Regions from separate parts of the Homo sapiens genome. Here region 2 is linked to region 1. The links are contacts of gene promoters, found by promoter capture Hi-C in blood cells and fetal thymus (Javierre and others, 2016). All regions are on one chromosome and are shown on one strand. The core of a region is centred on a gene start or on the middle of the fragment in contact, and the rest is flanking DNA. Distances in the headings are between cores, read along the strand shown. Region 1 holds the start of HMMR-AS1 (HMMR antisense RNA 1). Region 2 overlaps ATP10B (ATPase phospholipid transporting 10B (putative)).

Evidence for each region. The method cuts DNA at HindIII sites, captures the fragments that hold promoters and counts their contacts. A CHiCAGO score of 5 or more calls a contact.
Region 2: a fragment that was not itself captured here is called in contact with the fragment with the promoter of HMMR-AS1 in region 1 in 1 of 17 cell types (M0 macrophages); the score reaches 9.6 in M0 macrophages.

The regions. Positions count from the first base shown.
Region 1 is chr5:163,489,985-163,497,006 of GRCh38, reverse strand. HMMR-AS1 (HMMR antisense RNA 1) reads left to right here and starts at 2,949. Exons shown (of 4, transcript NR_109892.1): 1 at 2,949-3,308; 2 at 3,458-3,564. HMMR (hyaluronan mediated motility receptor) reads right to left here. Exons shown (of 18, transcript NM_001142556.2): 17 at 6,455-6,617; 18 at 5,066-5,895. The coding sequence ends at 5,843. The HindIII fragment of the contact is 5,178 bases long and covers 1,046-6,223 here.
Region 2 is chr5:160,826,528-160,833,549 of GRCh38, reverse strand. The region is part of intron 1 of ATP10B (ATPase phospholipid transporting 10B (putative)); the gene reads left to right. Among named protein-coding and RNA genes, the nearest start is that of ATP10B, 22 kb to the left of the region's middle. The HindIII fragment of the contact is 877 bases long and covers 2,502-3,378 here.

The sequences.
Region 1 (7,022 bases), core at 1,700-4,199:
ACTTTTCTATGTATCTCTTACTGGTTCTGTTTCTCTGGAGAACTGTGACTAATACAGATTTTGGTACCAAGAGTTGTTCTAGAGGGACAGAATGTTAAGGATGAGTTTCCTGATGGTTCCAGGGTTCTTGGGATTGGTACTCTGATCTTATTAAACGTGTTAATGATTCTTTCCAGTTAGTAAAGTGAGCACTGAGTGCATAGCATGATCTGGCAATAGAAATACACAAAATAATTGCATTGGCCACTTCTAATCAGCCAGTTATAAGAGGCAAGGAGCTGGCTAACTGTGTATATGATATTTTTTTTTGATTTTTGGAAAACTAATTGTTGATGGCTGTTATGAAACCTTTGTTCTTGTCTTCTTAGTCTAAAAGAACTTAAGAGACACAGAGTGGAGAAGTTGCAGCATTAAACAATTCATTGCAAAGGAAAAAGAATATTTTGAAAGTTAAGTGCACAATAGATAGTACATCCTTAGAGAGAGGATTCAGTACAGGCTGCTGGTAAGGATGAGATCATAAAGACTGGCACTAGGGAGACTCCCTTTCTGGGAGTCTTACATGATTAATCATAAGGGGGTGGGAAGAGGTGTTACTAGTAAGCATGTTCTGGGTGGTCCTCTGGGTGCACAAGAGCAGTAGCTGTACATGCTTGTTCATATATCGCATGTCTCATTAGCATCTTAAATCTCCACCCAGCAGTGGGTTTTTTACTATTATAATGAACAAAGGGTCAGGCTGAGGATAGGTAAAATCAAAATGTATATGCTATATACAGGGAAATTTCCTACTGAAGATAGCTTTGCTTGAATTAGCTTGACTACAATGTGAATGCTGGGGCTTATTTTGTTAAAGTATGTGGTGCAGTAAGCCACAGTTGCTGCATACCAAGGGCATGTTTACTTCCTTGACTACCTATTCTGCCTCATAATGAGTATAATGAGGACAGTTGGTTGTTTCTAATGTCACTGGATAAAGTGGTGCAAAAGTGAGTGTAGGGATTTTTATTCCCAGCTCAAGTGCTCCATAAATAATCTGAAAGCTTCTATGTGCACCCTGAAGAAAACCCTATCTCCTGTAGCCCCAGAGCTGAGACTGTTGAAAATCAAACACAGCATCTCATCCTGTGACTGGCTGAATTACAACACAAATTAGAATTCCAGCCTTGCAGAGTGACTATTGTCAAAAGGAGGGCACTTACTGAAAAAAAAATGGGATTCTGTAAATTAGGATTGGGACATATGGGAAGACCTTGATGAAGCTGGGGACATTAAGCCCCTAAATTCTGATGAGTCTTCTTTGCTAGTGGAGAGGCTTCTCAACCCCATTGGAAGCAGCTTCTCCATTTCCAGTGATAGTACCCTCCAACCTGTCTGTGATGATTAACACTGCATTGCCTGAGGAAATTGTAATGGCCTCCTTTGAGGCAGTTGATATGCAAGACAATGTTGGTTCTCCTCCAGACCCAACTCCACCACCCTTCTTTGCTTCTAGACCTGAAACTAGACAGGAACAAAGTGTTACCTATGAAGAGATGTGCTATACTCCAAAGAGTTACTCAAAGTCTCTAATTTATACAGACAAAAATCTGGGAACATATGTCGGAATGGATAATAAAGGTGTTGGAAAATGATGGAAGGAACATAAAGTTGGATCAGGTCAAATTTATTGACATGGGCTCACTAAGCCAAGATTCTGCATTTAACATTGCAGCTTGGGGAGTTAGAAAGGGTGCTCACAGTTTGATTGGCTTACTAAAACATGGAAAAGATGAATTGGAAGTGCTGGACATGCCTTGGTTTAATCTAGAGGATGGGATTAAAAGGTTTAGGAATATTGGGAAATTAGATTTTTCACTTAAGAACTACTCATCTCGGGTGGATCATGAGGTCAGGAGATCGAGACCATCCTGGCTAACAAGGTGAAACCCCGTCTCTACTAAAAATACAAAAAATTAGCCGGGCGCGGTGGCGGGCGCCTGTAGTCCCAGCTACTCGGGAGGCTGAGGCAGGAGAATGGCGTGAACCCGGGAAGCGGAGCTTGCAGTGAGCAGAGATTGCGCCACTGCAGTCCGCAGTCCGGCCTGGGCGACAGAGCGAGACTCCGTCTCAAAAAAAAAAAAAAAAAAAGAACTACTCATCCACACTGGGAAGGTCAAGAAAGCATACCTTTCACCAATACTATGAGAAAGAAATTTGCGAGGAGAGCTCCAGCATCTTTTTCAGAACTCTGTGATGGCTCTTCTCTGTAGGCCAGAGCTCACTGCAGTCACTGAACTGGAAAACCTAAATATAATGGAAGTAAAGGATCCCAGGGTGGCAAGGGTCAAGTAATGGGACTCAACCACCAAAGGCAAGGTGAAGTGGTTATCATAATGACAGAGCCAAAGGAACAATTAGAATAATCTCACTTGTAGACCTATGCTTTGGCTAGTTGATCATGGTTTTCCTAGACGTGAAATAGATAGGAAGCCTACTGAAGTCTTAACTTGATCTGTATAAGCAGAAAACTTCTAAGTCAAGTGACGAAAGTTGAACTCGAATCATAAAAACAGAATCGTGGTCCCTTAATTCCCAAACTTGAGCCACTTTATAGAGCCCAAAACCCTTTGATTGAAGGGGAGGACCTCAAAGGGACCCTGGTCCATAACCAAATGTTTATACTGTTAGTCTTTCTCCTAGTCCTCCGCAAAGGGATGTACAACCTTTACCAACGTAACTGTGCATTAGAAAAAGGGAATAATCAGATCTTTTGTGAACTAGTGGACACTGGCTCTCTGAAGTGACACTAATTTCAGGAGATCCAAAGTGCTACTGTCAGGGTAGCAGCTTATGGAGGTCAGGTGATCAGCAGAGTTTTAGCTTAGTTCCATCTCACAATGGGCCCAGTGAATTCCTGAACCTATCCTGTGGTTATCCCCTAGTTCTAGAATGTATAATTAGAATACAGTCAGCAGCTGACAGAATAATCCACACATTGGTTTCCTTACCTATGGAGTGAGGGCTATTATGGTGGAAAAGGCCAAGTAGAAGCCACTAGAACTATCTGTACTTAGGAAAATAGTAAACCAAAAGCAATGCTCAATTCCTATAGGGACTGAAGAGATTAGTGCCACCATAAGTACTTGAAGGAAGGCGGGGTGGTGATTCCTACCATATGTCCATTCAACTCGCCTATTTAGCCTGGGCAGAAGACAGATGGATTATCACAAACTTAACTAGGTGGTGACTCCAATTGCAGCTACAGTACCAGATGTATTGCTTGAGCAAATTAACACAACTCCTGGTTCCTGGTATGCAGCTACCTGGTATGATCTGGCAAATGCCTTTCTCTCCATCCCTGTCTATAAGGCCGACCAGAAGCAGTTTGCTTTTAGCTAGCAAGGCTAGAAATGCACCTTCATGTCCTACCTCAGGGCATATCAACTCACCAGCCCTGTCCTAATTTTGTTCACAGGAATCTTGATTGCCTTTTCTTTCCACATCACATTGGTCCATTACATTGACGACATTATGCTCACTGGACCTAATGAGTGAGACATAGCAACTACTCCAGACCTATTGGTAAGACATTTGCATGTCAGAAGTGGGAAGTAAATCCAACAAAAATTCAAAGGCTTTTTCATGTCTCAGTAAAATTTCTAGGGGTCCAGTGGTATGAGGCATGTTGAGATACCCCTTCTAAGGTAAGTTTTTGCATCTGCCCCCTCCTACAACCAGAAGAGGCATGACATGCGGCAGGCCTCTTTGGATTTTGAAGACGTTTCCTCATTTGAGTTTGTTACTCTGGCCCATTTACTGAGTGACTTGAAAAGCTGCTAGTTTGGAGTAGGACTCAGAATAGGAAAGGTTCTGCAATAGGTCCAGGCTATTGTGTAAGCGGCTTTGTTGCTTGGGACATATGAACTTGCAGATCCAGTGGTATTTGAAGTGTCAGTGGCAGATAGAGATGCTGTTGGAACCTTTGGCAGGCCCACATAGATGAATCTCAGTGCAGACCCTTAGTATTTTGAAGAAAGACCTGTTATCCTATGCAGATAACTACTCTTTTGAGAAACAGCTCTGGGCCTACTGCTGGGCTTCAGTAGGGACTGAATGCTTACCGTGGTCAATTAAGTTACCATGCGACCTGAGCTGCCCATCATGAGCTGGGTGTTATCTGACCCACAAGCCATAATGCTGGGTGTGGACAGCAGGAGTACATCATCAAAGAACGTGTTATGTATGTGACTGGGCCCAGGCAGGACCTGAAGGCAAAAGCAAGTTACATGAAGAAGTGACCCAAATGCCCATGGTCCCTGTTCCTGCTACCTTGCCTTTTTTCTCCCAAGCTCATGGAGAGTTCCCTATGATGAGTTGACAGGAAGAAACAACATGGGCCTAGTTTATAGATGGTTCTGTGTGATATGTAGGCATCACCTGAAAGTGGATAGCCATAGTACACCAGCCCTTCTCTGGGACATCCCTGAAGGATAGTGGTAAAGAGAAATCCTCCCAGTGGGCAGAACTTTGGGCAGTGCACCTGGTTGTTCATCTTGTTACCCCATGTTGGCTAAAAGTAGAGGTCCTGAAGCATTTTATTATTTATTTATATATTTTTTAGAGATGAGGTATCACTATGTTGCTCAGGCTGGTCTTGAATTCCACCTGCCTCAGCCTCCCAAAGTGTTGGGATTATAGGCGTGAGCCACTGGGCCCAGCCCATTAAACCATTTTATTTTATTAGACAATTTTTCTAATTTCTACGTTTCTTCTGAACTTAATTTAAAAAACTGTATTTTAAAATTCAACCATGTATTAAGATCTAATAAAATAATAATGAAAAGCAATTCTGACTGATAGTCCCTGTTGAGCCATCAGTGAGAACACATTATAAAAAAGGTAGCTTATAAATATCATACCAATGATATGTGCAAAACAGGCATTTTAGAGAGAGATTTACCACTTTCCAAACAGTATCTTTTGTGATTCTGGGGACAAGGTGGTGTGGGTAGGGTAGAGATGATAAATACATCTTACATAGAAGCATGAATGTAACTTCATAAAATACAAGCTGAAAAATTAATTGGTTAAATGACTTACTGTGTAATTTTATTTCATATTACACAAATGTTAATCAAATGCTGAGTAGACATGCAGATGACAAGCAGTATATGACAAACTCTGAAGAAATAGTTACATGTAGAGTTTCTCAGATTTTTAGTGTATCTAAGAATTAACTGAAGAGTTTGTTAAGAATGCAGGCTTAAAGGCCAATCCACAGATTATAATTTCATACAAACAGGATGGAGCCTAAGAACCTGTAAATTATTAAACAACTGATTAAAAATAGAGAGGTTTCTATGAAGTTAGGCTTGTCCTTATTTCTTATTTGAACTGGACAAGTAGAAGGATAATAGGTAGGACCAAGTGAGCATTATCAGAATCAAAGTAGAGGCAATAACAAGCCAAGGTGTTTTAGCCTAGCTAAAGAAGCTCAGACTAGAAAAGACCTCCAGGATCAAGCTGAAGAATCTGGGGTTTAGACTCTTGAAACTAAGGTTTCAGAACAGGAGGATAATAATATGATACTGACTTTTAAGTTGATGAGATGCATTCTAAGCTGGAAAGCCAGCGAAAGGGTTCAGAATGAGGTGATAAAGGTGAGCATTAGGGAGGAGGTATTTGCAAGAAAAAATAAAATGTCAAAAGACACTTTGGTAAAAAATGTTCCTTTCACATATTTAAGGATTGGCAGTTAAAATTAAATACAACATTATAAAATACCCATGTCAAATATAATAACAGCAACATCAATAACAACAAGACGAATGAAATAATCTTCAACAGGTTTCTCAGATGTTTACTTCCATGATTCTTGACACTCCATAGGAGCTCGGTAACAGTTTGTATTGCCTAGAAGAATTATTGAAAAGAAGGATTAGTAATCTAGATTAAAACGAATTTATCCATCATTATAAACTAAAAACAGGCCTTGTATCTTCTTTAAGGCAGATGAAGCAATATATTCTGTAAGATAATTTTTAGATTTATCATTTCAACCAACTTTAATTTATCGTGAAAGACAAACATTCACAGTCAAGAAATAAGAAATTTACTTCTCTAAAACTACAAATCAGAAAATGATTAAGGACCTAAGAGACATTTAGGTTAAAATGCTAAGGGTATTATAGAGGGAGTAATTTGGGGTGTGTGGACAGGGACAAAATAGTCATGCAAAGCTTCAAGGAAGATTTGAGATTTGCCTTGAAGAACAGGCAGAATCCAGGTATACAGAAAAGAAAGCGTAGAAGGAGGAAGAAAACAGTCATTGTACACAACAATCTCAGTAAGAACTGCTTTTATCAGAAGGTGTCAACAAATTTTCACAGTTCATAAAATGGATGACTTGCTAAATGCTATAAAAGCAAATCCAAAGGAAGAGGACACTTTTATACATTTATTCATGTCTTACCTTCTTTTAATGGGGTCTTCAGGGCAAAATTTTCTTTACTTTCATGATGAAAAGCCTTTGAAGGATCAAAGTGTTTGATACCTAGAACTTTATTCAATTCCTCTTGAAGTTTTGTCTCACTTTGTTTTTTTTTAGCAAGCTGACAGCGGAGTTTTGATACTTCCTAGGTAAAAAGAAATAATAGGTAATAAACAATTATTAAAGAGTATGTCAGTGAAATGTGTTACCAATGTTGCGGGCAAATTCCAAAGTTGTTTATGTATTATCACACTCAACAGCAAAAATCACTACTAGACACAGGCTTTAAGACTGAATTACAAAATGACATGAAACAGCTGTGACAAAGGAGATACAGTCTTTTAAATCTCCTTGCCCCTCCTCAGCTACAAAGCTATTTTTCTGATAAAAGTTCAACTCAAAAGTAATTGCTGAGATGGACTTCTGGCATGACAGCATGAAAGTTCTGCTGACCTGCTCCCTAGTGAAACTAAAAGTTATAAAATATTAACCAGTTAAAGCCTCTGAAAATTGACCTAAGGGAAAAATAGCAAATGAAGAAACATCTATT
Region 2 (7,022 bases), core at 1,691-4,190, 2.7 Mb after region 1:
AATTTTTGGTTGTATGCTGGACATTGTGTGGGAAAATCAAACAGGATGAAATAAATATTAACTCCTTGAAAAGAGCATATCCCTTTCTATTCAGACAGCTGAGGTGGAGAGTTGAGTCAATCTAATCATCTAATCTATAACTGAGCTGAATCTGAGATTTGCTGCAGCTTTATTTAAATTCACTTCACCACTACCATCAAACAATTTGAAGGCAGCATTAGGGCTTTACCTTCATTGGGTCTTAGAACCTAATTATTAGTGATAGTTTCAAGATTCCCCTGTATTCTACAACCCAGCTTTCAGCTGTCCAAGTTGTATGAGATTTCTCTTGCTCTCTCCTCTTATAGCACAACCATAAACTTTTGAGGTAGTATATTTTCTCTCTGCTCTCTAGTTCTGTAAACAGTTTTCTATGCCTTGTTAAATCTCTCCATCATACTAGCCTGCCACCAGCCTTCAGTAGACTGATGCTTTATATTTAGTAAAGTTCCCAGGCTCCTCAGAGAAAATCTCTCTCTGATTCCCTGCCCTACTCCAGAGTTTGGCACATTAACACTACGCACTTGGCACACATGCCATGAAAAGGGTTGGAGAGTGACGAGTGACTGCAGACTTACTTTGGGCTAGATTTGCCCAGGATTCTAATGTGTCATGCCAGCCCATGCCTGACCATAAAAGATTGATAAAAATTGGGCTTGTTTCTCCTTACCCCCACCTATGGCAGGTTTTGTTCTTCTTGTGCCGTGCCCTCCGGGATGATACAGCTGTGGCAGTGTTCTCTAGGAGTAGCTTCTCTCTCTCTGTTTATCATATTTAGGTATTTTTGTGTCGTCAGGAAGATGAGGGTTTTTTTAGAGTATAATCGTGTGGCTTATTTAGCTTTATCTCTTTGACAAGTGGGAGCAAATGTATCTTAAGAGCAGTCTACATTCTAGAAGCACAGGTTATACAGTAAAAATTGAAAGCCTGTCTCCTTGTTCTCCAGATACATCCAAGTGTGTACACATTCACACACCCTTATTCATTCATTTGTTTCAGTGTGGGCATATGTGTGTAAATTTTAAAATAAATACCTTGCTATATACTCTCTCTACAACTTAACACTTTTTATCAACAATGTGTTGAGGGCATTTTTCCCTATTAGTACATATAAAACTACCTTATTCTTTTGAGTATTTATATAGTATTTTGTTATATTGGTTGAGCCATCACTTATCCAGGCAATTTCTTACTGATGGACATTTAGTTATTAAATACATAATACTACAAATACTGTAGTCATGAACAATCTTACAAAGGTAGCCAGAGTTTTATGAGTATTTCTAAGGCTGATTTCCTGAAGGTAAAATTGCCAGTTTGAAGGTGTTGGCTTATTTTAAAAGGTGATAATAAACACAATGTGATCTCATACTGCTCTGTGGCATTATTATGATTATTATTGCTATACTGCTTGGATGTTCTGATTACTTGTTGACAAATGCTGGGCTATTTGACCCCTTGAACAAAGGCCTAAGACCAGAGAAGCAAACTGGCTTTTGTGGAACACAGCTCCCATTATTGTTCTATAAAAGGATTCTGTGTTCAAGTTAGATTGGAAATTCCAGTATACTTTACTCACCTACTTTCGTTTTTAGAGATAGAGACTCTGGGAAGCCATAAAGAAAAGTGAGAAATTTAACTTTATTCAAACCAGTGTTTTCCACACATCTTGATCAAGGAACTCTTTATTGCCTATTACCTCTTGACATCCTATAGAACTGTAAACAATTTTGTTCTTTTTAAAATAAATTTATATGTTTGTTTCTTCAATCTCTTCCCTGGTAAGGAGGTATTCAGCACTTTTCACAATGAATTGTCTTTTCTTCTTATCTGCTATTCCAGAAGGGCTTTTTGCTTAGAGATGGGGTAGATTCATGCTTGTTAGAATTGTTTACAAACTAGAAATAAGCAGACTTTAAAAGGAAGCCTGAGGTGTTACCTCATAATTAGTAATTACAGCTTTTAGTGCCTGAACACTATTGAACCTACTTGACCTTCCCAAAATTCTTCTCTTGTTTCAAGATTTTCATCTGTATTTTCCCACAAATGAAGTATTATGTACTTGGCAATCTCCTGAAATCCTAACTTAGGAAAGTCTCCTGCTTATTTAAAGCTTAAGTAGGGGTAATGTGTTCTGCCAGAAGAGGAAACTAGGAAAGTTCAGTAATCTTATTCATCATAAGGTATCAGAAGTGATCTGTGCAGTTAAACAAGGAAAATTCTATGCTAGGTAGAGTCACCATTAATTAAGAACTTACTATATGCCAGCCACTGTGCTAAGAAGTTTACCTGAGTCACCACATTTACTAGGCTCAACAACAAACTAAGAAATACTATTATTTTCTCCATTGAATGAATAAAGAACTTTGGGCTGAGTGAATCTAAAAGAAAAAAAAAAAGCGTGTTGAAAGTGACAGAGCAAATATAAAAATAAGTGACAAAGATGAGAGTTAATATAAGCTTGCCCAATTTCAAAGTCTGTCTTTAACCACTACACTATTCTGTCCACTCTGTGTGTGTGTGTGTGTGTGTGTGTGTGTTTGTGTATGTATGAGAGAGAGAGAGAGAGATTGAGAAGAGGCATACAGAAACAGGGATAGAGAGAATGAGAATAAAATTAACCAAAGGTATTGTTTGGAGATGTCAGATTAACTAAAATAAGAGTCCGAGGTTGAAGGCCAGCACAAGCTCAGGTAAAATTTTCACTTGTCAGTGATCCTTCTAGATTCCATTATATTTGCTGTCTTCATTTCTACTCTAGAGCTTCCAGTGACGTAGTTGTCAAATATGCAATAAAAATCTACTCTACAGATAATGGAACTATCAAAATCTCAACTTAAAAAAAAAATCCAGAGTTTCATACATAAAAATTTGGCTCAATTTCTAATGAACATAGATTACATGAAATCAACAGTGTTTTCTCTATGGATAGCCTATAAATACAAGTAAAAAGTAAGGCTCAAATCAATCTACAGCTGGGAGCACACTTGAAAAAGCAAAGCATTGGTTTTTAAGGCTCAAAAAAATCTTAAACCTATTTGATCTGGTGTCACTATTACAATTTGCCATATACAGAAAACATGTATTTATTCAGCACACATGTATTGAACATTTCACTTCCAAGGCATAAAGTCAACTGTCACAATGCCTATACAAACACACAGCAATTAAAAAAGTTAAGAAGTGAATTGCTCGAGTGCATTTGGGAATATTTTTAAAAATAGAACATTAAAGAAAATATGCAATTTGATTCAACATATATAAATCAATAAATATGATTCACCACATAAACAGAATTAAAAGCAAAAACCACATAACCTCGATAGATGCAGAAAAGCTTTTGATAAAATCCAACATCCCTTCATGATAAAAGCCCTCAACAGAGTAGGCATAGAAGGAACATACCTCAAGAGCCATCTATAAAATCCACAGCCAACATCATACTGAACAGGCAAAACCTGGAAACATTCCCCTTTAGAATTGGAACAAGACAAGGATGCCCACTCCCACCACTCCTATCAACAGAGTACTGGAAGTCCTAGTCAGAGCAATCAGCAAGAGAAAGAAATAAAAGGCATCCGGATAGGAAAGGAAGAAGTCAAATTATCTCTATTTGCTGACAATATCATTCTATACTTAGAAAACCCTAAGGACTCCCCCAGAAGGCAACTAGAACTGATAAATGAGTTTAACAAGGTTGCAGGATATGAAATCAATATACAAAAATCAGTAGCGTTTCTATACATTAATAACATCTAGGCTAAGAGTCGAAGAATATGATTGCATTTAAAATACCACAAAAAAAGTGAAATACCCAGAAATCCAGCTAACGAATGAGATGAAAGATTGCTAAAAGGAAAACTACAAAGACTACTGGAAGAAATCAGAGATGACATAAATGAAAAATGTTACGTACTCATGGATTGGAAGAACTGATATCATTAATATGGCCATACTTCCCTATTGGAATTTAGAGATTCAATGCTATTCCTATCAACCTACCAATGTCACTCTTCACAGAATTAGGAAAAAACGATTCTAAACTATTCTAAAACGCATATGAAACCAAAAAAAGAGTGCAAATAGCAATCCTGAGCAAAAAGAATAAAGCCAGAGGAATCAAACTACCCAATTTCAAGCCATACTATAAGCGTGCAGTAACCAAAACAGCATGGTACTGGCACAAACACAGACATGTAGCTCCATCAAACAGAACAGAAAAACCAGAAATAAAACCATAAACCTACAACCATCTAATTTTTGATAAGGCTGACAAAAACAACGAATTGCTTTTTTTTTTATTATTATACTTTAAGTTTTAGGGTACATGTGCACAATGTGCAGGTTAGTTACATATGTATACATGTGCCATGCTGGTGTGCTGTACCAATTAACTCATCATTTAGAATTAGGTATATCTCCTAATGCTATCCCTCCCCCCTCCCCCCACCCCACAACAGTCCCCAGAGTGTGATGTTCCCCTTCCTGTGTCCATGTGTTCTCATTGTTCAATTCCCATCTATGAGTGAGAACATGCGGTGTTTGGTTTTTTGTCCTTGCGTTAGTTTACTGAGAATGATGATTTCCAATTTCATCCATGTCCCTACAAATGACATGAACTCATCATTTTTTATGGCTGCATAGTATTCCATGGTGTATATGTGCCACATTTTCTTAATCCAGTCTATCATTGTTGGGCATTTGGGTTGGTTCCAAGTCTTTGCTATTGTGAATAGTGCCGCAATAAACATACGTGTGCATGTGTCTTTATAGCAGCATGATTTATAGTCCTTTGGGTACATACCCAGTAATGGGATGGCTGGATCAAATGGTATTTCTAGTTCTAGATCCCTGAGGAATCGCCACACTGACTTCCACAATGGTTGAACTAGTTCGCAGTCCCACCAACAGTGTAAAAGTGTTCCTATTTCTCCACATCCTCTCCAGCACCTGTTGTTTCCTGACTTTTTAATGATTGCCATTCTAACTGGTGTGAGATGGTATCTCATTGTGGTTTTGATTTGCATTTCTCTGATGGCTAGTGATGATGAGCATTTTTTTATGTGTCTTTTGGCTGCATCAATGTCTTCTTTTGAGAGGTGTCTGTTCATGTCCTTCGCCCACTTTTTGATGGGGTTGTTTTTATCTTGTAAATTTGTTTAAGTTCATTGTAGATTCTGGATATTAGCCCTTTGTCAGATGAGTAGGTTGCAAAAGTTTTCTCCCATTTTGTAGGTTGCCTGTTCACTCTGATGGTAGTTTCTTTTGCTGTGCAGAAGCTCTTTAGTTTAATTAGATCCCATTTGTCAATTTTGGCTTCTGTTGCCATTGCTTTTGGTGTTTTAGACATGAAGTCCTTGCCCATGCCTATGTCCTGAATGGTAATGCCTAGGTTTTCTTCTAGGGTTTTTATGGTTTTAGGTCTAACGTGTAAGTCTTTAATCCATCTTGAATTAATTTTTGTATAAGGTGTAAGGAAGGGATCCAGTTTCAGCTTTCTACATATGGCTAGCCAGGGCTACAGTAACCAAAACAGCATGGTTCTTGTACCAAAACAGAGATATAGATCAATGGAACAGAACAGAGCCCTCAGAAATAACGCCACATATCTGCAACTATCTGACCTTTGACAAACCTGAGAAGAACAAGCAATGGGGAAAGGATTCCCTATTTAATAAATGAATTGCTTTTCAATAAATTGTGCTGGGATAACTGGCTAGCCATATGCAGGTGAATGAAACTGGACTCTTACCTTTCACCCTATACAAAAATTAAGATGGATTAAAGATTTAAATTTGAGACCTCAAGCTATTAAAATCCTAGAAGAAAACCTAGGAAATGCCCTTCTCAACATTGGCTTTGGCAAAGAATTTTTGGCTAAGTCCCCAAAAGCCATTGCAACAAACCAAAAATTCAAAACCTACAGAATGGGATAAAATATTTGTAAACTGTGCATCTGACAAAGGTCTAATATCCAGAATTTATATGTAACTTAACAAGCAAGAAACAATCTCATTAAAAACTAGGCAAGTGACATGAACAGACACCTTTTGAAAGAAGCCATACACATGGCCAACAAAGGTATGAAAAAATGCTCAACATCACTAATCAGAGAAATCCAAATCAAAACCACAATTAGATACCATCTCACACCAGTCAGACTGGTTATAATTAAAAAGTTAAAAAACAGATGCAGGCAAGGTTGAAGAGAAAAGGTATCAGGGGAACCTGCCCCCAATATTTCAACGTAGGTTCTTCCTATTTTCTGTAAGTGTTGGCCGGCTGAGAAATAAAGAGTACAAAGAGAGGAATTTTACAGCTGGGCCTCTGGGGGTGACATCACATATTGGTAGGACCATGATGCCCACCTGAGCTGCAAAATCAGCAGGTTTTTATTAAGGATTTCAAAAGGGGAGGGGGTGTAGGAACAGGGTGTAGGTCACAAAGATCACATGCTTCAAATGGCAAAAAGGAGAACAAAGATCACGTGCTTCTGAGGAAACAGGACCAGGGCAAAAGGCAGAACTTCTGATAAGGGTCTGTGTTCAGTGGCACACATATTGTCTTGATAAACATCTTAACAGAAAACAGGGTTTGAGAGCAGAGAACCGATCTGACCAAATATTTACCATGCTGGCATTTCCCAATCCTAGTAAGCCTGAGGGTACTGCAGGAGACCAGGGCATATTTCAGTCCTTATCTCAACTGTATCAGACAGACACTCCTAGAGCGGCCGTTTATAGACTTCCCCACAGGAATGCAATTCCTTTCCCAGGGTCTTAATATTAATATTCCTTGCTAGGAAAAGAATTTAGTGATCTCTCTCCTACTTGCATGTCCATTTATAGGCTCTCTGCAAGAAGAAAAATATGGCTCTTTTTGCCCTACCCTGCAGGCAGTCAGACCTTATGGTTGTCTTCCCTCGCTAAAAATCGCTGTTATTCTGTTCTTTTTCAAGGTGCACTGATTTCATATTCAAACAC